Regions from separate parts of the Homo sapiens genome. Here regions 1, 2, 4, 5 and 6 are each linked to region 3. Evidence: promoter capture Hi-C in human tissues and cell types (Jung and others, 2019). All regions are on one chromosome and are shown on one strand. Each heading gives the region's core, a stretch centred on a gene start or on the middle of the fragment in contact. The rest is flanking DNA. Distances are from core to core; before and after follow the strand shown.

The links. The method cuts DNA at HindIII sites, captures the fragments that hold promoters and counts their contacts. A contact is called where the count stands out against the background at its distance.
Region 1: the fragment with the promoter of KRTAP10-5 here is called in contact with the fragment with the promoter of UBE2G2 in region 3 in 1 of the 25 tissues and cell types used here (lymphoblastoid cells).
Region 2: a contact is called between a fragment that was not itself captured here and the fragment with the promoter of UBE2G2 in region 3, in 2 of the 25 tissues and cell types used here (dorsolateral prefrontal cortex and mesendoderm cells).
Region 4: the fragment with the promoter of KRTAP10-3 here is called in contact with the fragment with the promoter of UBE2G2 in region 3 in 1 of the 25 tissues and cell types used here (thymus).
Region 5: a fragment that was not itself captured here is called in contact with the fragment with the promoter of UBE2G2 in region 3 in 3 of the 25 tissues and cell types used here (IMR-90 fibroblasts, mesendoderm cells and stomach).
Region 6: a contact is called between a fragment that was not itself captured here and the fragment with the promoter of UBE2G2 in region 3, in 1 of the 25 tissues and cell types used here (mesendoderm cells).

Annotation. Positions count from the first base shown.
Region 1 is chr21:44,578,912-44,583,111 of GRCh38, reverse strand. KRTAP10-5 (keratin associated protein 10-5) reads left to right here and starts at 2,508. Exons shown (of 1, transcript NM_198694.3): 1 at 2,508-3,657. The coding sequence starts at 2,534. The coding sequence ends at 3,349. The region is part of intron 1 of TSPEAR (thrombospondin type laminin G domain and EAR repeats); the gene reads left to right. RefSeq lists enhancers at 2,184-2,773, 2,774-3,364. The HindIII fragment of the contact is 3,934 bases long and covers 94-4,027 here.
Region 2 is chr21:45,009,779-45,014,278 of GRCh38, reverse strand. No RefSeq gene overlaps it. Among named protein-coding and RNA genes, the nearest start is that of PICSAR, 7.3 kb to the right of the region's middle. RefSeq lists enhancers at 346-1,329, 1,330-2,315, 1,201-2,400 and a silencer at 1,271-1,565. The HindIII fragment of the contact is 5,888 bases long and covers 1-4,500 here.
Region 3 is chr21:44,800,156-44,804,430 of GRCh38, reverse strand. It overlaps UBE2G2 (ubiquitin conjugating enzyme E2 G2), which reads left to right and starts at 2,611. Exons shown (of 6, transcript NM_003343.6): 1 at 2,611-2,725. The coding sequence starts at 2,683. LINC01424 (long intergenic non-protein coding RNA 1424) reads right to left here and starts at 2,190. Exons shown (of 2, transcript NR_109928.1): 1 at 1,795-2,190; 2 at 1-684. RefSeq lists silencers at 1,993-2,042, 2,543-2,762, 2,823-2,882 and an enhancer at 2,430-3,385. The HindIII fragment of the contact is 9,913 bases long and covers 1-4,275 here.
Region 4 is chr21:44,555,794-44,560,242 of GRCh38, reverse strand. KRTAP10-3 (keratin associated protein 10-3) reads left to right here and starts at 1,448. Exons shown (of 1, transcript NM_198696.3): 1 at 1,448-2,453. The coding sequence starts at 1,528. The coding sequence ends at 2,193. All of the region lies in intron 2 of TSPEAR (thrombospondin type laminin G domain and EAR repeats), which reads left to right. The HindIII fragment of the contact is 7,690 bases long and covers 1-4,449 here.
Region 5 is chr21:44,649,197-44,653,353 of GRCh38, reverse strand. The region is part of intron 1 of TSPEAR (thrombospondin type laminin G domain and EAR repeats); the gene reads left to right. Among named protein-coding and RNA genes, the nearest start is that of KRTAP12-4, 3.4 kb to the left of the region's middle. The HindIII fragment of the contact is 1,947 bases long and covers 659-2,605 here.
Region 6 is chr21:44,958,735-44,963,223 of GRCh38, reverse strand. It overlaps SLX9 (SLX9 ribosome biogenesis factor), which reads right to left. Exons shown (of 6, transcript NM_058190.4): 3 at 3,056-3,124. Among named protein-coding and RNA genes, the nearest start is that of SLX9, 21 kb to the right of the region's middle. The HindIII fragment of the contact is 4,593 bases long and covers 1-3,546 here.

The DNA.
Region 1 (4,200 bases), core at 1,259-3,758, 220 kb after region 3:
CTGCACTTTTGGGAGACTGAAACGGATGGATCACTTGAGGCCATAAGTTCGAGACCAGCCTGGCCAAAATGTCCAAACCCCATCTCTACTAAAAATACAAAAAAAAAAAGAAAGAAAGAAAAATAGCTGGATGTGGTGGTGCACACCTGTAATCCCAGCTACTCGGGAGGCTGAGGGAGGAGAATCGCTTGAACCCGGGAGGTGGGGCCTGCAGCACCACTGCACTCCAGCCTGGGTGACAGAGTGAGACTGTGTGTCAAAAAAGAAAAGAAAGAAAGAAGGAAGAAAAGAAAGAAAGAGAAAGAAAGAGAGAAAGAAAGAAATTGGTGTGATCATTCAATTGTCCGTGGAAACTGCCATGGTGGCCCCCAGTGAAAATTTCCATGATCCAAAAAGACACGTCTCCACTGAGCGCAGGGCGTGGACTTAGATCAGGCACACTGAGACCCTGGAGCTGTTGTGGGCACAGCAATGACTGTGGAAAGACACTTTGGACAGTGATGGGTGGTCCAGACACCAGGAGAAGGGAGCGACAGAGGGCGTGGATCACAAATAGGAATAAAGAGACAAGGAATCACCACACCCATTCGATTAAGGAGGCTGCCAGAGATAGCGATGGGAAAACTAAAGCAAATTATCATACAGGCCCCAGGGCTTGTCCCAGAAGCCATGTCAGCCTTACCACATCCCGCTGGCTCAGGACCACCTGCCTCCCTGCCTGCCACTCAGGAAGCACGCACTCTTCTGGGAGCTGTGTGACAGAACGGAGCCATGTATGGCCGTGAGGGAAAGGAGTGAGAGCTCGCGGTTGTCAGGTTCACTGCCGGCCAGCTGTCCTCTTTCAAGGTTACTTATCTTCTCTCATCATTTCTGCAACTGTCAAAATGGGCTGCAGAGTCACCCCTCACGCGGTGGCTGATGTGGAGACCGCACCTGCGCCGTGCATGTCTGTAGCACACCCGCTGATATGACGTCATCCTAGCCTTCCTGGCTTTCCTGTCATTTCCTGAAAGGAGCATCGAGTCCTTCAGTCCCAGAAAGTGGGTTAAGCACACAGTTCTCGCACAACCTCTACTAATAATCACTGAAAGGATATTCAAAGAGTTATAAAAAATAAAATCAAAATTGTCTAACAAAAAGGGAGGCTCTTTAAAATCCTTTATATATTTGTAGAAAAGAGAAACAGATGGAAACAAATTAGAATGTAAACTGGATCAGGACCCCAATGCCCTGGAATAAAATAGTCTTTTACTCAGAAAATCAAATGAACTGCCACCAATGAGCAGAGCTTAACTGATGTCCAGTGAAACGAGGGGAAAAACGTTTAAATGCTCAACATAACATCATTACAGTGAGCCAAAAATGTATTTCATTCATCGTGAGACAAAATTAAAGTCACAAAAGGAAAGACCTTGAGAGATGAGTTATTTTTAAGAGCGCAAAACACTTCCTGAGTCTCCACATTGAAAGGCTCAATGAATTCTAACCACAGAAAGTAAAATAATGCACACGCATAGAAACAAAAGAAGAATAAAAAGAAAACCAAATGTTCCCAGAGAGTTAAACGGAGAGAGAGAGACAAACTATAAAAAATGACAAATGACCAACCTCAGTCTCTCATCAGCAACGCTGGACACTACAGAAAAATGGTGACACAGGTTCATCATTTTGAGAAAACAGATTTTTTGTTATTATTTATAATAATAATTCTGACTTAAAACCAGAATTATATACCCAGCTAAACTATCATATAAGTGTGAGGGTAAAGTTGAGTACATTTTTAGGCAAGAAAGAAATCTTAAAATGTATGTCCTAAAATCACCATATGTGAAAAAGTACTTGATCTGTCACCATGAGGAAATAAAAATGGAGAAAACCCAGAGCGCAGCTTCAAATAAAACAGAGAGAGGGCTCTGAGGGTGGCATGGAAGAGCTGAAGAGACAAGGATAAAGCACAGATCCACCAGATACCAAATCTCTGAGCATTCCCCTTACGAGGCACAAGGGGTTGAAGAGAGGGCCACTTAGCTTCATCGTACCCTCTGTGCCAGCTGCATTTTATAAGAAATGCATATTTTTCTACCTATTTATATTTTAATATGCTAAAAGTAATAAAATATATCCAATCAGTCCAAACACAGGATAGGTGAAACTAGAATTCCTCCCTTTAGAGAAGTCTTCATCTCTAAAACCTCTACTCAACAAAAGTTTGCTTGAAATATTTTCCACCACATTTCTGGGGCTAAAATAAGAACCGATGAAGAAACACGGCCCTGCAACATACACACAAGTTTAATGAGGGAAAAACAAACAGATAAACCAGCATGAATGACGCATCTCCAGCCACCAGCTCTAAACACCAACAAGGAAGAGAAGCTTGTGGAGCCTCCTGTCGGGACAACACACGCCAGGGAGGGATTTAAAAGCCCCACAGCCCTGAGCACCTCACTCACTCACTCCCTCCTTCACTCACTCACACACTCACTCACTCACACCTCCCCCAGCTCCCAGCTCACGTCTTCCCCACCCCAGCATGGCCGCGTGCACCATGTCCGTCTGCTCCAGCGCTTGCTCTGACTCCTGGCGAGTGGACGACTGCCCAGAGAGCTGCTGTGAGCCCCCCTGCGGCACCGCCCCCTGCCTGACCCTGGTCTGCACCCCAGTGAGCTGTGTGTCCAGCCCCTGCTGCCAGGCGGCCTGTGAGCCCAGCCCCTGCCAATCAGGCTGCACCAGCTCCTGCACGCCCTCGTGCTGCCAGCCGGCTTGCTGCGCCTCCTCCCCCTGCCAGCAGGCCTGCTGCGTGCCCGTCTGCTGCAAGCCTGTGTGCTGCCTGCCCACCTGCTCTAAGGATTCCTCTTCATGCTGCCAGCAGTCTAGCTGCCAGCCAACTTGCTGTGCCTCTTCCTCCTGCCAGCAGTCCTGCTGTGTGCCTGTCTGCTGCAAGCCCGTGTGCTGTGTGCCCACCTGTTCTGAGGATTCCTCTTCATGCTGCCAGCATTCTAGCTGCCAGCCGACTTGCTGCACCTCCTCCCCCTGCCAGCAGTCCTGCTACGTGCCTGTCTGTTGCAAGCCTGTCTGCTGCAAACCCATCTGCTGTGTGCCCGTCTGCTCTGGGGCTTCCACTTCATGCTGCCAGCAGTCTAGCTGTCAGCCGGCTTGCTGCACCACCTCCTGCTGCAGACCCTCCTCCTCCGTGTCCCTCCTCTGCCGCCCCATATGCAGGCCCGCCTGCTGCCTGCCCATCTCCTCCTGCTGTGCCCCTGCCTCCTCCTACCAGGCCAGCTGCTGCCGCCCGGCCTCCTGCGTGTCCCTCCTCTGCCGCCCCGCGTGCTCCCCCCTGGCCTGCTGAGGCCTCTGCTCAGGCCAGGAGTCCAGTTGCTGATGTGCACATCCCCCAGGGCCAACTGGTCCTGACTCGGGTTAGGAGGTTGCCCCCGCTTGGGACGGGGCCCCCATGTGCTGAGGTGACCCCCCCCTCCATACTCCCAGGAATCTCCATCCTCGAAGCTCCCCAGCTCCTGCCTCCCAGCAGGGGCCCACCTGCCTGTTGGGTCCCCTGTCCTCCCTCCCAGCTTCTCTGCCCCATGTCACTTGGCCTCGACTTGAACCTGTCAGCACCTCCTCCTGCTCCCCAATAAACTCCCCTTGGTCGCCTGATTCTCTTTTTCTGTAGTGCTCCTGGGGATACATGGTTTTGAGCTCAGATTGGTCTCTAGCCATGACTGTTTCTATGAATGAGTGACTTAACCTAGAAGTCACGGGGGACAGTGGCCTAACTCCTCCAGGGGGTCACCAGGTGGAACTCACAGCCACGCCCAGGAAGGCTCAGTCCCGGCTCAGCCTCCATGCCTGGGTCTTCCTGAGCCTGGTCATTGGCTGCCGTGCCCTGGGCTGTGGGGCTCTCCAGGCCCCAGGACTGTCCCACCCACTGTCCCACCTGGGAGAGCCCACCCTGCAGGGTCACCTTCCAGGAAGCTGGCCTGGGGTCCGGGCACCGCAGCCTCCAGGCCTGGTCACCCTCCCTGTGTGCCGCCCGCCCGAGAGTTCTGCCCGCTTAGCAGCAATGCGGGGGGAGAGGGAGGGGCTGCTGCACCTGCGCAGGAGACAAGGGACTCGATCAGGACGAAAGCATCATGGAGTGGGTGGATGGATGCACATGATTCCCCAAAACTGGCACTGCCCCAGGCCCTCCTCTGGGGG
Region 2 (4,500 bases), core at 1,635-4,134, 210 kb before region 3:
GGTTTCACCTAGGACCTCATGATACGCTCATTAACATCCTAAATCCCAGGCCAGGTGTGGTGGCTCACGCCTGTAATCCCAGCACTTTGGGAGGCCGAGGCAGGCAGATCACCTGACGTCACGAGTTCAAGACCAGCCTGGCCAACGTGGTGAAACGCTGTCTCTACAAAAATACAAAAATTAGCTGGGTGTGGTGGCATATGCCTGTAATCCCAGCTACTCGGGAGGCTGAGGCAGGAGAATTGCTTGAACCCGTGAGACAGAGGTTGCTGTGAGCTGAGATCGCACCACTGCATTCCAGCCTGGGTAACAGAGTGAGACTCTGTCTCAAAAAAAAAAAAAAAAAAATCCTAAATCCCACACCCATGGGTGCCAGGACAGTTCTGGGAACACCCATGTTTGGAGTAAAAACTGGTGGGACCACAGTTCTGAGAAATCTCCACCTTTTTCCAGGAATCTTCTTGGACTCTGCCCCTTGGTTTAAAAAAAAACCCATAAAGGCAGCAGCCCCAAACCTCACTGCGCGACTGTCTTGTGAGTCCACGCGAACTCCCCTCTTGAGTGTAGACTTTTCACTTTGCAATAAATCTCTGTACTTTGACTATTTTCGGACTTGTCCTTGAATTCCTTCTCGCGGTGGTGTCAAGAGCCCTGACACTGGCTGGGATCGAGGTCCCATCAGCGTCTGGGGACCTTGCACAGCCCATCAGTATCACCCTCAGATGAGCCGAGGGCGTGCAGGTCCCAGGTCCGCTTGGTGCCGGTGGCATGAGTGGTCGGTCTGTGAAAGCCAGGGGACCCACAGCAGTGCCAGCCCCCAAGGTAGGGCCTGCTTGCCCACAGCTCCCCCAGGTGTGAGCCCGCCCTGTAGCAGCAGGCTGCCCCTGGTGGTACTGCAGAGCCCAGGGTGAGTTCAGCTCTGTCCCCAGAGGGCCGGTGGGCCTTCTGCTGGCTGTTTGCACAGCTCGCTGGGTGCGGGGCAGCCTTGGCCTTTAGCCGGGGCCTCCCTCTCCCTGCAGGGGGAGTCCCCAGAGTCACCAGCCTGGCTGCTGTTTCTGCAACGCCCCCACCACGCCCCACCACCATCAAGGCCCCTCTGCCCCTGCCTTCACCTCCCCAGGACTGGGGCCTCCATCTGCTTTCACCTCCCTGGGCTCCCAGGTTCAGCCCTCCAAGAGTTGCTGCAGCTTTACTCTTTCTCTTCCTTTCACTACAGATGCGTTCCCCCCTCAGTTCCAGGTGTGCGTTGGGGACAGAGACAAGGGCATTGCCCAGGCTGCCATCCTTAAGAAGTCTACGTGGGAAATGGGTAACCCACAGGAACAGACTTGGGTCAGTGGCAGGCATGTCCCATCCAGACACCTCTTCCCCAGCTGCTCCCTTCGGGCTCAGGTGCCGCCTCCTCTCTGCAGCCTCCTGCCAGGACCTGTCTGCCGGAGCTTCCTTCGCTCAGCCCTGAACCCCGCCCACCACTCCCTGCAGGCACAAATCCCTGATTTCTGTCCATCTGTTCCTTGCCTCTGAAATGTCACCATTGGGTGTTAAAGGGTCTGGAGGTGACCTGAGGCAGGTGAGATAGGGGGACCATGAGGGGGCCACTCCTCAGCCCTGTGCTCTCTATTCTGCCCCTAAGAGGAGCTAAGGAACAGTTCTTTGGTCTGATTGTGACACTGCATCCTGTGCTTTCACTGTGTGGTGGGCTGAGTGATGGCCCTGGAATGTCCGGGCCCCAATCCCTGGAAAGTGACCTCACCTGGCAGGAATGTTTGCAGGGGGGACTCAGTGAGAGGCCCTGAGACGGGGGATTATCTCGGATCATCCGGGTGGGACTGAGGCGCCTCTGGTGTTCTTAGCAGGGGAGGTCTGCCCCACCAGACCACGTGTCACCAGCGCTGTGCTGCTCTGCTGGCCACGAGAGGGAGGCCAAGGGGGCAGCGCGGGGGCTGAGGCGGCAGGAGCCTCGAGGAGTCCTGCAGACACCTTACACCTTTATTGTGCCCAGTGAAACCACTTTGGACCTGGAGCTGTGAGAACGTCCATTTCTGATGTTGCAGCTGCCTGCTCTGTGGCGATTTGTTGCAGCTGAAGCTCGTGCAGCTCGGCAGTGGCGTGGTCTGTGTTTCTCGGGTTGTGTGGCCCCCATTCCTGCTGGAACCGGGGCAGTGAGCCGAGGTGCTGGAGGCCCTGGGCGGGGCGGTGTGTGGTCCCCTCAAGGCTGCCCGGCTGTGAGGACCAATGTCTGCACCACCTCTATCAGCCGGCCCTCCTGCGGCAGCTGGGGTCGGGCGGGGTGTGGGGGGCGTGAACACAATGGGCCAGAACCCAGGTGTGGGCTCGAAGCTTCTGTGGGGCTGCTCCATGCGGGTGCTGTTCCCAAATAATTATCTGGTCAAATGTGACGCGGTCCTGCAGACTTGGCATACTGGGCAGAGCCTGACAGGCTCACACACTTTGAGCAGAAATCCCTTTTTCAGAAATTGCCTCTAAGGAAACGCCACGCGTGGGGATTCAGACGTGCAATGAAAGGGGCTTGATGCGGCTGCTCCTCAAATTTTGGTGGATTTGGTGGGAGGCACCACCCCACCACACCTTCTGGTGCGTTCCCTGTAGGCCGCTGTCCAGACAGACGACCTGGCCCCAGGGTTCCAGGCAGGGTCGGGGCTCACCGATTGTTGCTGGAGAGGTTGGAAGGAGGGGTGAGTGGGGCTGCCCCTCAGTGCCTTGGCCCTGCAGCTAGAGGTCACACCCTGGCTTCGGCGTTGGCAGTGGGTCCCACGCGGGCCTGTGCCGGCCTCGCCGTGCGGGCACCCCTCTGCTGGGATGGGTCTCAGCAGAGATGGAGAATATTGTGCTGTTGAGAACACTAAACGTGTTAGCTGTCGGTGAGACTATAAGTGATTCCTACCATTTTCTTCATGTATCTTTGTATTTCTAGATTTCCTACAATAAACATGTATTAAATTACTATTCTAGTGAAAGAAATAAAAGACAGTAGACTTCCACTTCTAGACAAGATGGAGTGACAGGGGCTGAATGTACTTATCTGCCCAAAACAACTAAATAAGAGACAAGACTATTGAAACCAGGGTCCTCAAGGCAATGGGCATCAGACAAAAAGGAGCCGTGACCCGAGAAATGGGACACGGACGCGATGAGCCCTCTGAGGGCCCGGCCGACCTCCCGGAGAGAGTTTCCAGGTCACAGTGCTGGGAGGTGACGCAGGTGGAGCCAGGGATCTCCTGAGTTGAGGACGCTGAGAGTCGGGGAGACCAAGGCAGCCACAGCTTGCAGGGCAGAGGGTGAGAGAGGGGAGCTGCACCTAGCGAGAACCCTGGAAAGGCACAGAGGGCCCCTGAGAGGCAGCAGAAGGCTGATGAGCAAATTGAATCTGTAGTTAAAAATCTTCCCCTCTCACATACAAAATAACCCCGGGCTTAGACGGCTTCACAGGGGAGCTCCAGCCAACATTTAAGAAAGAGCTAATAGCAATTCTACATAAGCTCTTCCAGAAAGTTGAAAAGCAGGGATTTTTCTCAAGTCCTTCCAGGAGGCCAGCATGATCTTGATATGAAAACCAAAGACATTACAGGAGAAGAATATAGGAACAAGCATCCCCCTTTAGAAGTCCTAAACAAAAGCTTACTAAATTGAACCCAACAACATATTAAAAAGATGATACATCATAACCAAGGAGAATTTTCCCCAATATATCAGGATTGTCTTAAGGATTGAACACGTAAAAATCAATTTAAGTCACCATATTAACAAACTGAAAGAAGAACAATGTGATTGTCTCAATAGACACAGAAAAAGCATTTGACAAATTCCAACATGCATTCTCAAAACACTCTTGGCAAACAGGAGTAGAAGCAACTTCTTCAACCTGATAAAAGGCATCTCTGAACACCCGACAGCTGACATCACACCTACTTGTGAAAGACTGAGTGCTTCCCCTGAGGCCAGGAACAAGTCAGGGACAGCACTCTCAATGGTCCCATTCAGCATTGCACAGGAGGTTCTAGTCAGGGCAATTAGGAAGGAAAAAAGAAAATGAAAGGCATCGTTATTGGGAAGAAAAGAATAATACTGTCTTTATTTGCAGAAGACAAGTTCATCTATGCAAAAAAATCTAATGGAATTCACGAAACAAAAAGCTGCTGGAGCTGAAGAGTGAGCATCACAAGGTTGCAAGGTCAAGATCAATGCCAAGAGTCACTGCATTTCCATACCCCAGCAACGGACAGCCAGAAATTAAAATGGAAAGAACAACACACTTGTCGTAACATCAAAATTATGAACTAGGGATAAATCTGATAGAAGGTGTGAAAGTCTTGTACACATAAAATGAGAAAACATTGCTGAGTAAACGAAAGAGGACATAAGAAATGAAAACTTACACCATCTTCATGGGCTGAGACTCCATGTGCGTAAGACAGAAGTTATCCCCAAATTGATCTGCACATTCAGCAAAATCCCAACTGAAGTCTCAAAAGGCTTTTT
Region 3 (4,275 bases), core at 1,362-3,861:
AAAAATAGATCTGTTGGGATTACTATTTTCAACAAGATTACTTATGTGAAACTGACTCCAAGAATCTTTGGGTTAAATTGATGCTCCTGGAGGAGAGAGGCCCTATTTATCCTAGTATCTATGCCTGGGGTCCCAACTGGAACTTCTCCAGTTTTTGCACCGAAAGGTTCACATCCCAGGAACCCCCACTCCCAGGGAACTTGAGTTGTCATCTTAGCCATGCTGCAGGAGTGCCCAGCTGGAAACGCGTGATGTTCATGGGAAAACCCCACCGTATAACATGGGTTAAGCTGTGAGGTCCTTTTTATATTTCAGAACTTTAGTTGCTAAAGATAGAAAGCATTAATTTTATTCTGTACAGTTGGCCTCCCCAGGGTGTGCTGCCCTGCAGTATCACACACTGGCTGCTCAGAGTCCCTGGGACTCCACTACCACTTGATCCAAGTTGAGAGTTCCACGAGTTAGCCAGTTAAAACATAGGATGCCCAGCTAAGCTTGAATTCCACATAAGGTACTGAACGACGTCCCTGAAATGTTGCAGAGAGCCTGGTTCTCTGAAGATAAGGTGTTGTAACAGTCCTGTTGAGGGGAGAGACTGCCATCTTGTTTCAGCAACTCATATTTCAAGTGACTTTTGTCACTTGAAGCTGAAGCTAATCCTGATAGAAGCTGTAAACCACATTTCTGAAAAATAATAATTGGAAAACATACAGTGTTCTGCAGTAAGATGTCTGAAAAAGATGGATAAAATTATGAAAACATCAAGCATATGTTGCAGTGAACATCACGGCATTGACAGTAATGCTTTATTGCCCACATCTCCCATAACTGGAAAAGGGGAGCTGCTCTCCTTTAGGAGCACTGGACAGACTGCCTTGGGGTGTGGGGTGCTGTCTGATTAGAGAGAGAGCAGCTCTTGAATGGGGGAGGAAACACCTCCACTGTGACTTTTTGCACATTGCATTTGCACAAATTACTCTCTGAAACAGTCTCAAAGGACCATGTCATTTTATAAAGCACTGTGGTCATTTGAAAAGATGGAGGTAGACTGAAATTTTGAATTTTGGGGAATTTTCCTACACTATGCATACTTGTGAAGTTTGTATTGTTAAATTTCATTTGATTTGACAAATCCGTGTTAAGAGTATACGATGTCCAGGTACAGAGGCTGCCCCAGAAACAAGACAGAAGTAGGCAGGGACCCATGGCTCTCATGGAACACGCTTTTGGTTAGAGGCAACAGATAAGGGTAATACATTTATAGCATGCCAGTAAGTTCTATAGTACGGTGTGTTGAGTAGGTGTTGCAGAGAAAAAGGTATGCGGTGAAGGCCGGGTGGTGACGGCCTAGGCCACACTGAAGAGGCAACATTTGAGCAAAGACTGAAAGAGCAGGTGGGAAGAGTCGGGGACAAGAGCCGCCAGAAAGTGTTTCCGGGGAGGGAAGAGTCAGGGACTCTGAACCAGGCCAGGGCAGCTGGAGTGGAGTGAGAGGGAGGGAGGGTCTGGGAGTATGGCGGGGTGACCGGAGGCAGAGCAAAGCACTGCAGGACTTCAGCTTTACTGAGTGAAATGGGCGGAGCAGAGTGTGAATGTGATCAGACTTCTTTTCAAGGGATCATCTGCAATGCTGGAAAGGAAAAGACAAATGATAGATTATTGCAACAAACAGCCAGGCAAGAGATGCAAACTTTTTTTGCAAAGGTGTGTGTGTATATACATCCTTGCACCGGACAGCCACGAAGCACCTACTGTGCTGTGAAGTCAGTAAGGATGTGGGTTAAAATCGCTCACCTCACAGCGGGTCAATCGGGAAAGCACACCCACTCACTACAGCCATTATGGGAAAAAGGGCTCGCCCCTTACAGGATCCTCAACTGTGGAGAGGCCGGGAGCCCACGCGGGGCGCTGGGGAGTCTCTCAGCACCCCAGGGGTTCGGGCAGGGACCTGAGCCGCGCCCTCTCTCCCGGGGGTGCCCTGGGGTCGAGGCTGCTCGGCAGAGCCGGCGGTCAGTTCGAGCCGCGGGCCCGAACAGGGCTCTCCCCGCGGCTCTCTCCCTCGGAGTAGAAGGTGCTGGACCCGAACTCCAGCGGAGCCGCACAACACGTGGAGGAAAAGCGCCAGGACAGCTAACCTTCCCACCTTTTCAAACCTGAAACCCGGCCGGCTGGGGACGGTTGGAATGTTCAGTGCGTACCCGCACCTCAGGCCCCTTGTCTCCAGCCCCAGACCGCCCCGCGACCATCCTCCCCACCCCCCGACCTCTTATCTCGTCCCCGCCCTGTCTCCCCAACCTCCATCCTCCCCTCCACAACCCCCGTCCTCCCGCCCTTCGGCCACGCGCGGCTGGCACAGAACAGGCAGTTAGCGCACACACACTGGAACAGGCGCCACCGTTCAGGAAGTCTCTACAAGACCAGGACCCTGAGGCCTCTGGAAGTGCCGGGACCGAACCAACCCCGCAGAGCGACTAAGGCGAGGGCAGGAGCCAAGAGAATCGTAGCCGCGGTCGCGGGTTGAGCTCCCACCACCCGGACAGCGCGCCTCGGCGATCGCGCACGCGCCACGCCCCGGAAGAGTTCCTGGGCCCGCGACGGTGGCCCGGAAGCAGTCCCCGGTGTCGGGGCAGGAGGCACGCGCGCGGCTGAGGCGAGGTCGCTCGGCGCAGCTGTTGCGGGGCCATGGCGGGGACCGCGCTCAAGAGGCTGATGGCCGAGTACAAACGTGAGTCTGGGGACCCGGGCCGTCAGCAGCGTCCCGCGTTCCTGCTCCCGGGCCCGCGTCGTCCGGCGGGGCTGGGGCAGGGAGCCTGGCGGGGGAGCCGGGCCCGGGGCCTCCACCGTGAGCCCCCCTGTGGGTCCCGCGGAGTGCCGCGCCCTGCGCCCGCTGCCCACTCTCACGCGTGAAGTCGTGAAGAGAAGCCTTCCCAGCATCAGTAAAGGCAGCGCCGGCGCCGTGTTAGTTGAGAGCACACACAGTTGAGTCTTTGCGGGCTTGTTTTTTTCTCTTCTATTTTTTCTTTTCTTGGCAGCCTTGAGAACGTGCAGTGAGAGCTTGAGGAAGAAGGCCTGACTTGCTGCTGCGGAATTAGGAGGGAAAAGTGTATGCGTTAAAAGGGGAAAGGCTCGTTGGTGGAGCTTTGAAAGGTCAGATTTTGGCTTTCCCTCTAATGAAGGAAAAGGGTTTTTGAACAGTGCCACCTGTCACTCCTCCTAGGTAGTGTTGAGGAAACCTCTTGAGTGCTTTCCTACCCGGTAAATTAGATATTTCTAATGTCTGAGGAGAGCGAAGGGAGAAATGAGAACCTAGGAACACTCGGCATTCCATCGTTTTACACCGAATGCCCGCTTGGAAGAACTGCTGCGAGAAGTCTTGGAATACCATTGTGTTGAAAGCGCCAGGAGCCTGAGTCGCCGATGGAGACGAGATAGTAGCCGGCTAAGAGCAGGGCCTGAGTTCAGACCCGGCCTCTCTGCTTGTTAGCTCTTTGACCTTGTTCCTCTCTCTGTCTCTGCAGTTTCCTTGTCTTAAAAGGTTAAACTTGATACTGCAGGTGAAGTGCTTAGCAAAATACCTGATGTGTAACCCTTAATAAAGTTAGCTGCTGCTTTTGTAATTAGATTGAGGATAATTTTGGAAGAAAGTTAAGCTAAAAGAATGAATGTGAGAAAAAAAATAAGTGGTGAATATACATGTAGCTTGATTTCGTAAAACTATTGGTGACACCGCCCAGTAAGAGTTGATGTTTGGCTTAAGCAGACCAAAACGTTGCAAATACAGGCTCACTCACGTATGGTCATTCTTCCCTTGGTATCTGGAGGGGATTGGTTCCAGGCCCCGCTGCAGATACCAGAATCCTCGGATGCTCAAGTCCCTACTATAAGGTGGCGTGGTATTTGCATTTAATGTATGCATAGCCTCTCATAACTTTTAAATCATCTCAAGGTTACTTATAGTACCTAATGCAATGTAAGTGCTGCACAAATAGTTACACTGATTTTTTTTACTTGTATTTTTAAATCGTCATTTTTTATTGTTATTTTTTTCAAATATTTTGTATTCCTGGTTGGTCGAATCCATGGATATGCAGCCGCAGATACACAGGGCCTCCTGTAAACGTTCAAATAACGCTCGCCACCTAGTGTCTGCTAAAGCAGAACATAAAGGCACACCTCAGTTTCCCGCGCGCTTTGCTTTATTGAGCTTCACTTCGCAGATCTTGCATTTTTTACAAGTTTACAAGTTTTTTACAAGCAACCCTGCATGGAAGCAAG
Region 4 (4,449 bases), core at 199-2,698, 240 kb after region 3:
TGCCCTTCTTTGTCTTTTTTGATCTTTGTTGGCTTAAAGTCTGTTTTATCAGAGACTAGGATTGCAACCCCTGCTTACGTTGCTTTCCATTTGCTTGGTACATTTTCCTCCATTCCTTTATTTTGAGCCTATGTGTGTCTTTGCAAGTGAGATGGGTCTCCTGAATACAGCACACTGACGGGTCATGACTCTTCATCCAATTTGCCAGTCTGTGTCCAGCTATTATTTCTATGAAATAATATTTTTCCACTGTAGTCTGACTTTGCCAGGTAGTCCTCCAACAGAGCCCTTAGCCATACTCATCAAAGGTCAGAGGCTTCAAACCCTGCAGCCTATGGGCCCCCACCAAGCACTCAGTGGACCCCTGGCCTAATTTTGGAAAGCCCTGCAGCCTAGAGCATCATCAGAGCCTCTGCCTTTGCCATTTCAAAGATTTAGTAGAAAATAGCGATCATAGAGTGAGGAGATGAGGGATCCATGATCAGAACTTTGGGGGCTTACTAGCGCACAGGTATGGTCCCGGGCACAGGCATGGGCTGATACACACAGGTGTATAGGTATTTGTGAGACAAGGCTCTGCAATCAGACCCTTTTATTTGTACATTTACTATGACAATGTCCAGGAGCCAACAGTAGAACTAATACATTCTGATGACTTTCTGGCCCATAAGGGAAGAGACCTTGGAGCTCCCAAGGACACCATTGCAGGTGATGTTGCCCGAGATGTGAGAGGAGAAGGTGTGAACACTATTGTGCACACCACCGGGGGAAGGCCCCATAACAGTTCAACGTGAAATGAAACAAAGGTGCTTGCCCCTCATCTCCATCCCTACTGTGCTGGGCCTGCAGCTGCCTCCCTGCTCCCCTCTGCGAGCCAATCTCTGCCCAGGAAGACACTATTCCCTCACACCTGCCCCAGGGCTCACCCCCAGCAGAAATATGCCCCATGGTTCCCACTGACAACCAGCAGTGTCAACCCACAGGGTGGATCTCGCCGTGTGGCCAGGCCAACTGAGCATCTTCAAACTTGTCCACAGCAGAACACATCTCTCCCTTTCCTCAAGGCCCAGAAACTGAGGTTCTCCTAACCTCATCCCTCCTTAGGTGTAGAAGTCTTTTTTTAAGTGCAAACTCCTCCTGGGATGGAGCAGAGGGCTGTCAATTCCAGAATATCTCCTAACTGCCACTGTCCCTGCTTCTGCAGTGTGCTTTGATGCAATCAATATATTTCTACTAGTTTATCTCTGTGGACAAGCCCACATTAGGGAAGCCCTAACTCCAGTCAGGAGCCTCACAAACCAGAACATCCACAAACAATGAACCAACACTACTAACACAACAGTGCCTACAACAACAACAAGGAAGAGGAAGGCTTCTCGAAGCCAGGCAGGGGCAGCACAATCAACACAGAGGGGTATAAAGGTTCCGACCACTCAGAGGCCTGGCACGATCACTCACTCACTCCCTCACTCACTCCCACACTCACTCACTCACGTCTCCCCCAGCTCACCTCCTCCCCACCCCAGCATGGCCACGTCTACCATGTCCGTCTGCTCCAGCGCTTACTCTGACTCCTGGCAGGTGGACGCCTGCCCAGAGAGCTGCTGTGAGCCCCCCTGCTGCGCCACCAGCTGCTGCGCCCCGGCCCCCTGCCTGACCCTGGTCTGCACCCCAGTGAGCTGTGTGTCCAGCCCCTGCTGCCAGGCGGCCTGTGAGCCCAGCCCCTGCCAGTCAGGCTGCACCAGCTCCTGCACGCCCTCGTGCTGCCAGCAGTCTAGCTGCCAGCCAGCTTGCTGCACATCCTCCCCCTGCCAGCAGGCCTGCTGCGTGCCTGTCTGCTGCAAGCCAGTCTGCTGTGTGCCCGTCTGCTGCAAGCCTGTCTGCTGCAAGCCCATCTGCTGTGTGCCCGTCTGCTCTGGGGCTTCCTCTTCATGCTGCCAGCAGTCTAGCCGCCAGCCGGCTTGCTGCACCACCTCCTGCTGCAGACCCTCCTCCTCCGTGTCCCTCCTCTGCCGCCCCGTGTGCAGGTCCACCTGCTGTGTGCCCATCCCCTCCTGCTGTGCCCCTGCCTCCACCTGCCAGCCCAGCTGCTGCCGCCCGGCCTCCTGCGTGTCCCTCCTCTGCCGCCCCACGTGCTCCCGCCTCTCTTCCGCGTGCTGCGGCCTCTCCTCAGGCCAGAAGTCCAGCTGCTGACGGGCAGGTCCCGTTTCTCCAGAGTTGTTCCAGGGCCATCTCTGACTTCCGAAAATCCTTGCAGCCCTGAGCCCTGTCTGAGTCTCCTCTGCCCATAGCCACTGCACCTCCAGCCAGCAATGCTGAGCTTTCATGCCGATTCCCTCCAGGCATGCATCTCTCCCACACCCTCATCTCCATGCTGGCCAGCCGGTGGTCACTGTGTCCTGCCCCATGTGAGTGATCAGTCTGTCAACAAATAAAGTCACCAATGTGCCCTCTCAGAGGTCTTTTTTGCATATCTGGCAAACCCTGTGGGAAGAACTTCAACGTGCCGCGTGGGGTGGGAGCTTCGGGACTCTGGCCTTGAGCTGCATCCAGGCTGACAGCACCAGGGGCGGAGGCAGTCCTGACTTCCCGCTGTGCGGGGTCTGCTGTTGTGGGGTTCTCCTGCCAGCCTCAGCGTCTCCAGGCCCCGGGGGTGCTTCTCTGTGAATCCCCCACACCCACCCGGCCCGGCCTCTCCCTGGGCTCAGCTCCTCCCCCTCTCTCCTTCCTCTGCCTGTCTGACCCCCACTCATCATCTTCTCACCAGCCCTCTCTTATTAAATAAAATAAATATTTCTCATTCCTGGAAGACATTTTAGAGCTGATCTCTTATTTCAAATATCTGTGCACGGTCATCCCAATGCCTGAAGTCTCTGTGGGTCCATTTCAGCTTTCTGTCATTTCCACCAGTTCTCGCTCATGGTGTCGTTTCCTTGTGTGCTTCACTGTTTGCAGCTGAGTAACCACCTTTGTCCTTGGAAAGTATTTGTGGGCATTTTTGAGGCCTCTAAGACAGGTGTGTTTTCTTTTGCCTTATGTGAGGAACCCTCTCATGTAGCCGACAAAACCTATGGCAGCACCTGCAGCTTTGTCACCAACAGGAATGAGATGCGTGGCGTCACATTATGCCGGCCGCAAATGCTCAAAACCTCATTCTGGCCACTGCTGTTTCATAATTATGGTAGCGCGAGATGCACCTGCTGGGTCCCACCAGGCACATGCTCCCTAGGGAAGTACATGCTATCTCACCAGTTCACTTTTTCATAGTGTAACAGCAGTGTTTTCATGAAGTTGGTTTCCTTTTACTTATCTGAAAACCTCCAAAGCTTTCACGAGGTGGCCGGGAAGTTCCCTTGTGCAAAAAGGGCAAAGACCCCTGTCTTTGATTTGGGCCTGTAATCCTGTAATTCTTTATTCCTTTTCCAGTTTCCTGTTGCAACTAGGAAGATTCTTCCTAGTGTTTTCAATTGTTTTCAGCAGGATGATGGGTCAAACAATCTCATCAACAGGTTTCCAGAACTGGAATCCCTGGAGCAACTTCTATTATTTTTTAGGCGGAGTCTGGCTCTGTTGCCCAGACTGGAGTGCAGTGGTGCGATCTCGGCTCACTGCAACCTCCACCTCCCAGATTCAAGGGATTCTCCTGCCTCTCCTCCTGAGTAGCTGGGATTACAGGCGCAGGCCACCATGCCCAGCTAATTTTTTTGTATTTTTAGTAAAGACGGGGTTTCACCATCTTGGCCAGGCTGGTCTTGAACTTCTGACCTTATGATCCACCCGCCTCGGCCTCCCAAAGTGCTGGGATTACAGGCATGAGCCACTGCACCCGGTCTTTTGGTTTTTTTTTTTGTTGTTGTTATTTTTTTTTGAGAGCGGGTATCACTCTGTTGCCAGGCTAGAGTGCAGTGGAGCAATCTCCGCTCAGTACAACTTCTGCCTCCCGGGTTCAAGCTATTCTTCTCCCTCAGCCTCCTGAATAGCTAGGACTACAGGTGTGCACCACCACACCTGGCTAATTTTTGTATTTTTAGTAGAGACTGGGTTTCACCACATTGGCCAGGCTGGTCTTGAACTCCTGACATCGCGATCTGCCTGCCTTGGCCTCCCAAAGCGCTGGGATTACAAGCGTGAGCCACCGTGCCCGGCACGACTTCTTAATTCTTAAGAATAACTGGAAATTTTCTGTAACCTTCCCCTGTTGTTCACAAGGATTCCTTAATTCTTGAGTAGGTCTTTTCCTTTGAACCGCTGTATCTATTAACTTGTCCCAGCAGTCATTTACTCCTTTGCAGTTTCGATGGCATGTCTGTGCAAATGCAATACACAGTTGGAAGTCCCTGTCCGAGTGTCACAGGCTTCCAGGACAGAAGGACACAGGCCCCTTGTCACTGTCATTTTCCTTTGCAAGCTCCCAGCCCAGCCACCAGGACAAGGGGAGCAGGCATGGCA
Region 5 (4,157 bases), core at 383-2,882, 150 kb after region 3:
ATGCAGGTGGCGGGAGGTCAGCACGTGCAGATCACATGAAACTGGCTCAGAAGCTGCATCAAAGCAGAATCACATCCGGGTTTGGGGGCAGGAGCACATCTGGTTATGGACCGCAGAGGCATCATCACTCGCCCTATAAGACGTTATCTTGTTCAGGAAAAGGCAAGGACTAGCATCATTTATCTTTCTTTTTTTTTGAGATGGAGTCTCGCTCTGTCACCAGGCTGGAGTGCAGCGGCGTGATCTCAGCTCACTGCAAGCTCCACCTCCCAAGTTCACGCCATTCTTCTGCCTCAGCCTCCCGAGTATCTGGGACTACAGGTGCCCGCCGCCACGCTTGGTTAATTTTTTTTGTATTTTTAGTAGAGACGGGGTTTCACCGTGTTAGCCAGGATGGTTTTGATCTCCTGACCTTGTGATCCACCCGCCTCGGCCTCCCAAAGTGCTGGGATTACAGGTGTGAGCCACCACACCCCGCCAGAAGACTCTACATTTTAACCCTATATTTGCAGGTTGATGATTCTGAGTTCTGACTTTTCCTTGATATAATTTAACTATTTAAAAATGTGTACAAGAATGGGCCATGATATGTAGTCAACTGGAGTCCCAGAAAACCTGGCACGCCTTAATGTTTGAGAATCCCAGTTTTGGCCATTTCAGTGTTCAATCTCCTTTAGCTAACCCCTTACTTCTAGAAAGATACTTGCAAGTATAGACTCTGTATGGGTTACACATGAAGCCATTCCTACCTAGTATCTTTCAACGAGGAGAATTCCCCCTTCGTAAGACATAAAAAGTCTCACAGAAGAATGTACCCCTTCAGCAAGAAGTAAAATGAACTAACTGAATACAACTCAGGACTCTCAACCAAGTGGGAGGTCAGAGACTCAGGAGAGAGTCACTCAGTCACCTGTAACCATGGAGGAGCCGTGGGGGCTCAAGTGGCCTGTGCTGGTACCGGGGTGCTGGGTCCCCGCAGTGTTCCAGACGTCCCTGAGCAGTCCACTCTGAGTCCTATCTGGGTCACTGTGATTTTCATCTAAGGAAAAAAATTAAACTTTTAGAGAATGGGGCCCGGTGCGGTGGCTCACGCCTGTCATCCCAGCACTCTGGGAGGCCGAGGCGGGCGGATCACGAGGTCAGGAGATCGAGACCATCCTGGCTAACACAGTGAAACCCCGTCTCTACTAAAAATACAAAAAATTAGCCGGGAGAGGTGGCAGGCACCTGTACTCCCAGCTATTCGGGAGGCTGAGGCAGGAGAATTGTGTGAACGCGGGAGGCGGACCTTGCAGTGAGCCGAGATCGCGCCACTGCACTCCAGCCTGGGCGACACAGTGAGACTCCGTTTCAAAAAAAAAAAAAAAAAAAAAAGAAAGTTTTATTCAGAAGTCTTACTGAGGCCTAAACTGCTCCTGGGCTATATAGGCCTCGGTCTATAGTCCTCAGTAAGACTTCTGAAGCAAACTAACTTTCATTTTTTAAAAGCTTGATTTTTTTCCCCTTAGTCCATAGAGGTGAACTTCTGTGGCCAGCTGAGTATGGTCGCCAATGATGTCCACATCCTGGTTCTCAGAACCTATGAGTGTCACCTTTTGTGGCAGCAGGGACTTCACACGTGTGGCTAATTAAGGGAACTTAATATGTGTGGACCATAAGGTGTGGCTAATGGGAGAGTACCCTGGATTATCCAGGTGGGCCCAGTGTCTCCACAGGGTCCTTATCAGAAGGAGGGAGGAGGACATTTGGCCAGAGGAGAAGGTCATGGCAGGTGTGAGTGAGATGCCTGCTGCTAGCCCTGAACCAAGGGCTCGAGCCATTTCCAGAAGCTGAAAGAGATGAGGAAAGATTCTCTCCTGCAGCCTCCCGAAGGAACCCGCCCTGCCCATGCCTTGATTTTAGCCCTGTGAGACCCACAGCAGACTTCGGACCTCCACTGCTATGAGATGATCCATTCGTGTTGTTCGAAGCTACTAAGTTTGTGGCCACAGGACACACATCCAACTTCTCTGTCTCACAGCCTGGTGTTTCTACACACTGCGTGGTCTTGCCAGCCACAGCCGTGAGCTGTCTGGGGCTGTGTGGGGGAGGCAAGGAGAAGAAAAGGGGAGGAGAGACAAGTCTCCTCTCTGGAGACCTGTGGTGACTGGGCTGTCACTCTCTCTGCTTGCCAGGGCTTCGGCCTCACTCTCCCGCTCGTGGCCTGTCCATTGTGGGAGCTTTTTCCCTGTGGCTCCCCCAGCCTGGAAGAGGCTCTACTCTAGCTGGTGCCAACAGCTTCCTTCTGCCAAGACCTGTCCTCTCCCCAGGTTCTACTGCAGAGCCTGAGTCCACCCCTGGTGCCCCCTCCCTGGTGGGGCGCCACCTGGACCTGGGGGACCATCAGGGAGTGTCACCCTGTCCTCCCCCAGAGCATCTGCAGATTCCGGCCTCAGACTTCTTGGGTGTGTCAGAGCCAAGCCATGGTTGTCCCCTCTTCAGAGGACTCCGTCCACCTCTGGGGATCTCTGTGGCCTGTCCCTTGGCCTGTAGGAGGTCACAGGCCCCAGGCACTTCCCTCAGAACTCCTTTCCCAGCCCCCAGCCCCATTTCCCTGGACTCTCCACCCTCACTGGGGGCTGGAGCTGGAGGGCGTGTTGACATCCGGGGGCTGCTGTGACAGAGTCCCACGCCAGCTATGTGACATGGCAGAAGCTCACATCTCACGGTTCTGGAGGACTGCAGTCCGAGGTGAAGGCGTCAGTGGGGCTGGTTCCTTCCATGGTGGTGAAGGAGAGTCTGTCCCCATCTGGGGGATGACTCTGTCCTGTTTTCTGGGCCTGTTGCCTTCTTTGGTGTCCTTGGCCTGCAGGGGCATTGCCCAATCTCTGCCTCCGTCATCACGTGGCCCCAATCTCTGCCCCCGTCGTCACGTGGCCCCAGTCTCTGCCGCCGTCGTCACATGGCGTTCTCCAGGTGCCCGTTCGTGTGCAAATTTTGCCTTTTTATAAAAACAGAAGTGGTGTTGGCTCAGGGTCCCCCACTAATGACTTCACTTCAACTTGACTACATCTGCAAAGGTCCTGTTTCCACGTAAGGTCATGTTTACAGTATGAGGGATCAGCATCCAACATATACCTTTTCTTTCTTTTTTTTTTTTGGAGAGGGTCTTGCCTGGTCACCCAGGCTGGAGTGCAGTGGCGCGATCACGGCTCACTGCAGCCTTGACCTCCCAGGCTCAAGCCGTCTTCCCACCAAAGTAGCTGGGACTAGAGGTGCACACCACCATGTTCAGCTAAATTGTATTGTATTTTCTGTGGAGATGGGGTCTCACTGTGTTGCCTGGGCTGCTCTCGAACTCCTGGGCTCGAGTGGTCCTCCCTCCTCGGCCTCCCACGGTGCTGAGATTACAGGCATGCGCCACGTCTGGACCAACATGTCTTTTTTTAAGGGGACACTGTTCAGCCCAGGAAAGAGGTCGGTGCAAAGCCATGAGAGCAGCCTGGGTTCCTCTGTGCGTCAGTGGGCTGTGGCGTCTTTCATCGTGGTTCCTTGGGAAGGAAGAGTCCACTGAGAATCCGCGTGGCTGGGCCTCTTCAGGACACAGCCCAAGCCCACTGCACACACAGGAAGGCCCGAAGCTGGGCCTGAGGGTGGCCTGGCTCCCATCCAGGCATTGAAGCTATTGCAGAAGGAGGGAGGCCTGTATGGGGGATGCCTGCACTAATTCCAAGAATGGGAAGCTTGGCCCCCAAAACCGAGGGCTGCCCCGACAGAGCCAGCTTGGTCCCTGTGGCATGCGTGTGGGCCACACGGGAGAAGGGGTGTGGGCACGTCCTGGGTATGAGTGGGATTTGCCTGGAGGGGGTGCTGTCCTCAGTAGAAGGGGGCTGTTGGCACACGTGGGTAGCGGGGGAGCCGTTTGGGAACCAAGAAATCAGCTAAGAGGAGCACCAGCCAGTGTACCCCTCCTGCTGAGAGGCCCATATCTAGAAACTTCCGTTACCAGGATGCCCTGTATTGATGAGCATGTGAGGTGCAGGGGGACTCCTTAGAAGGCCTCCTCCACAGACCGCTGCTCATCCCTCCTCCCAGGCCAGCAGCCTCGCCTGGGGCTGTGCTCTCACCCTTACAACTGGGCGAGGGTGTCTGCAGGCTGGAGGGTCTCTGATCACACC
Region 6 (4,489 bases), core at 1-2,500, 160 kb before region 3:
CCGGCTACTCAGAAGGCTGAGGCAGAAGAATCGCTTGAACCCAGGAGGTGTTGCTTGCAGTGAGCCAAGATCGCACCACTGCACTCCAGCCTGGCGACAGAGCAAGACTCTATCTCAAAAAAAAAAAAAAAGAAAGAAAATGAACAGGCAAGTCACAGTCTGGGAAAAACATCTGTAAAACACATATCCAACCAAAGACTGGACTCTAGGACAAAGAACTCTTAGAGCTCAATAATAAAAAGACAAAAAGCCTCATGAAAAATGAATTTCACTGACGCTGAAACACAAATGGACAGTAAGCACATGTAAATGCTCTTTTGGTGGCAACGGAAATGAGTACCACCGTGAGATACCATTTCATGATTACCAGACGGCCGAGGCTGAGGAGACGGCAGGCCATGTGTTGGCAAAGCTGAGGGCCAGGAGAACTCTCACAGGCTCTGGTGGGAGTGTGAGTGTACAACCACTCTAGAAAAGCGTCTGGCAGCTGCTTATAAAACTAAACATACACCTACCCTATGACCCAGCATTCCATTCCTCAGCACTTACCCAAGAGAAACGAAAACATGTCCACAAAAAGACTTGTAAAGAATGTTCAGAGCAGCCTTATTCACAGTAGCTAAAAATGGAAAAAAGCCCAGGTGCCCATCAGCAGGAAAGTGAGTAACAAATGGTGTATTCATACAATGAAATACTTCTCAGCAATCAAAAGGCATGGACTGCTGCTACATGCAGCCTGGATGGGTTTCAAAACCATTACGCTGAGCAAAAGCAGCCAGATGCAGAAAGAGTGCATCCTACATGATTCCATTTATACAGAGTCTAAGGCAAGAAAAGCTCAACTGTGGACGACAAAGGGTGACACAGCAGTTGTTACCTCTGGGGCCAGTGGGAGAGGTAATTGACTGGGGGGGTGCGTGACTGTCGGGGAATGGTGGTGATGGTCCATAACCTGAACAGGATTTCAGCTGCACAGGTGTCTACAACATTTGTCAGCAATCATTGAATGGCACACTTTAGATTTGCATTTCATTTTATGTAAATACAATCTTCAAAAGAAAAAGAAAAAAAAAGAACCATGAACTCTAGCAGAATTATTTGGGGTGGAGTGTACTGATGTCTGCCATTTACTTTGAAACGCATTTTTAAAAACCCATGTTGGTAGATGGACAGAAACTGCTAGATGAACGGTTATGTAATAAAGATTGTAAAATCTGTGTGGTGGGTACAGGGTATTCCCTATAAAATTCTTCCCACTTTCCTAAATAAAATTTTTCATAATAAAATACAAAGTAAAAGTAACTTGGGAAATGTAGCTAAAGCTGTATTTAGAGATAACTTACAGCCTTTCACTCCTGAACAAAACATATACAAACAGATAAGCAGAGTAACTGAAACCCAAAGAAAGCTAAAACGGGAGTGATCAAAATAAAAACAAATAATTTTGAAGACAAAAGAGTAGAATTGGTTATTAAATACATTAATTATTAAATGGAAGAGACAAAACTTCTTAATTTAATCAGAAATGAAGGTGGAGATACAAATAAAGAACGATAAAGAAAACAGAATATTTAATAAGAAGGCAACTAACATATGAAGATTGAGATCTGACTAAATTTGATCATTAACATTATTTAGAGACAAGGACCCACTCTGTCACCCAGGCTGGAGTGCACTAGTGCAATTACGGTTCACTGCAGCCTCAAACTCCTGGGTTGAAGCGATCTTCCTACCTCAGCCTCCTAAGTCGCTAGGACTAGAGGCTCAGAGGCATACACCACCTAATCTGACTAATTTTTACATTTTTTGTAGAGACAAGGTCTCGCTATATTGCCCAGGCTAGTCTGAAACTCCTGGGCGTAGGTGATCCTTCCATCTCAACCTTCCAAAGTGCTGGGATTACAGGCATGAGACACCATCCTCAGACAAATTCGATCATTTTATGAGTGGCCAAAATTGACTCAAGTTGTGAAAAAACAAAAAAAAAGGACCAAGTGCCATGGAATAAAATTTACACATCATCAAAGAATTACAGCCTAGAAAATCAGGGTCCAAATGGCCACAGTCCAGTAGCCCGTCCAAATCCACTTTCACAGCTATGCTAGGAACTGTGAAAAAGAAAATGGAGGAATGAATCATTTCCCTAAGAAATATCCAAAAAGGGATAGAAACCATAAAACTAATAATCACAAAAGAAACTGACAAAGTTTTCTAGGTCCTACCTCTGAAAAACATACATTTTCTTTAAAACCTCCAAGGAAAAAATAAAGCAGATAACATAAAAAAGAAAATATTCCAAATTAATTTCACAAAGTCAGCAGAATCACACTAAAAAGATAACCGAAAAATACAAAATAATTTTGACGAGAAACAATCTTAGAAAAACACTGGCAAATATCCAGCATCACGAAAAATAAGGAGATACTCCAAAACAACCTGAGTGGGAAGTGTGGCTTTCAGCCTGCGGAGACGTGCAGCTGGGAGCACGTGGCAAGGCTGACCTCAGAAAAGAGGGAGCCACAGGCCTGAAAGGGTCTGGGGACACCAGGGGCCCTGCCCACACCCACGCCGCTATGCGCAGACACTGTTTTCACCGCGGGCAAGGCCTGGAAGGATTTCACATACCACTGCAGGCACTTCTGAACCATAAAAACTCCACGAGCACAGGTTACTTCCACAATAAAAAATTTCACGGTGGGGAACAAAAATAGGTAATTTTTACAAACAAGGAGCCGAGAGCAGCAGCTTCCCAAGGCCGTCCTCCAAAGGGAGGCAGCCCAGCTCTGCAGGTGCCCACACGGACGGGGTGGCAGTGCCATCCACAACAGGCCAGACCAGCTTGGCCATGCTGCCAAGTCTTCATGGCCAACCTCTCTGTGCCTCCACTGTCCTTCGGCCCCCACAGCAGCCTCTGAAGTGTCTTGGGTGATCCCCTTGGGCACTCCTCGGGGAGTGTGGCTGATGTAGAAGGCCAGATGTGAGGCTGTAGGAATAGGAGGGCCCACGGGATGGGACTTGGGCCGGCAGCTGCCTCAAGACGCAGGCATGGACTTACTCTGCAACCATTGCTCACGCCTCAGCTTCATTTTCTCCTTCTTGGGCAAAACGGTCTTGGCCTCTGCACCTGAGGAAAGAGAACACGGGAGTGAGCAAAACGTGTCCAGGTGGCACTCCCATGACCTGAGAATGGGCTGGGGCGGGTCCTGACTGCAGAGCTGCCACAGTCACTGCAACTGGTCTGGCCTGTGCCAGCCTCTCAGACTCCCGGCTCTGGACAGCACCAGGGGCACCTGCAGCATGCCTCGGCCCGGCCTCAGGAGGCTCTCTCAGCAGCGTCCCCCCGCAGTGATGGCCTGGCCACTCACCCCAGCCTGCCCCGGAAAGCAGGTGTCCCAACAAGGAGGCCTCCTCCCCACTCATGCCCCGAATGACTGTCAGGGCAGTCATTGCAGTGAAGCCATGCAGGAATGCCCGACGGCTCATGAAGGGGGCCACGAACAGGACAGAGGCCCTTAGGGGGACATCCCCAAGATCCTGTGTGGTCACGTCAGGCCCAGCGACGTACGTGCTCCCTGCCCCCTGCCAGGCCCGACAATGTGCTCGGTGACCAGAGGCTTCATCCCTGGACCCCACAAAGCGGCCCTCTCAGGGAGCCTCCAAAAGTGAACTCCACAGGTGCCCCTGTGCTTGGTCCACGCGGAGCCCAGCCACCTGCCCGGTGGGCGGGGAAAGGAGGCTCATTTGCTGGGGGGACAGGGGCAGGGGTGGGATGAGCCTGCAGGGCCGTGCAGGTGGGGACAGGTGGAGAGGGCACTGGGTGCTGCGTCTCTGACTCCAGTTTGCTCTGAAACAGAGTGGACTCAAGGGCACCCCCATTTCCTCGGCCTTAACTGATTTCCCGAGACGGTTCAGCCTCGGCTGCATTCTCCCCAGAACACATCTCCCAGTATCTCTTTTAATTCATGCAGACCTTCCTGGCTTGTCCAACAAATCCACCATGTCTAATGAAAAACAAAGCAGAAGCAAGCCCTGCCTGGAGAAAGGCAGTCGCTGCGCTCTGCATTTCAGACTTCACTTCAGGAGCCGGTGTGAAACCTCCAAGGCCCAGGGCTCCCGCAGGATTTAATCCCCTCCCACAGCTTCCTGGTGTGCCTGGGTTGACCTACTTTCCTCCATAGCATCCCAACCTCTCCCTCCCGACCACAAAGGGGAGGGGCTGATTTTGCAGCTTTTCTGTAGTTTTGAAATTGTTTCAAAAGAAAAATGAATCTAAGACCAGTGGAAACTGACCCGAACAGTGACCTGTGTTGTGTTGGAATGAAGAAAACGAGGCCTGGGCGCAGGCCAGGTCAGGAACACAGCACAGTGATCCTTCCCGGCTCTGGCCCCAGGGAGCTCCCCAGCCCCATTGCCATGGCACCAGGACAACAGGAACCAAACACGCTGCTCCTGCAGGAGGAGAGGGCTTGGAATGCTGCAGCTGGAGCAG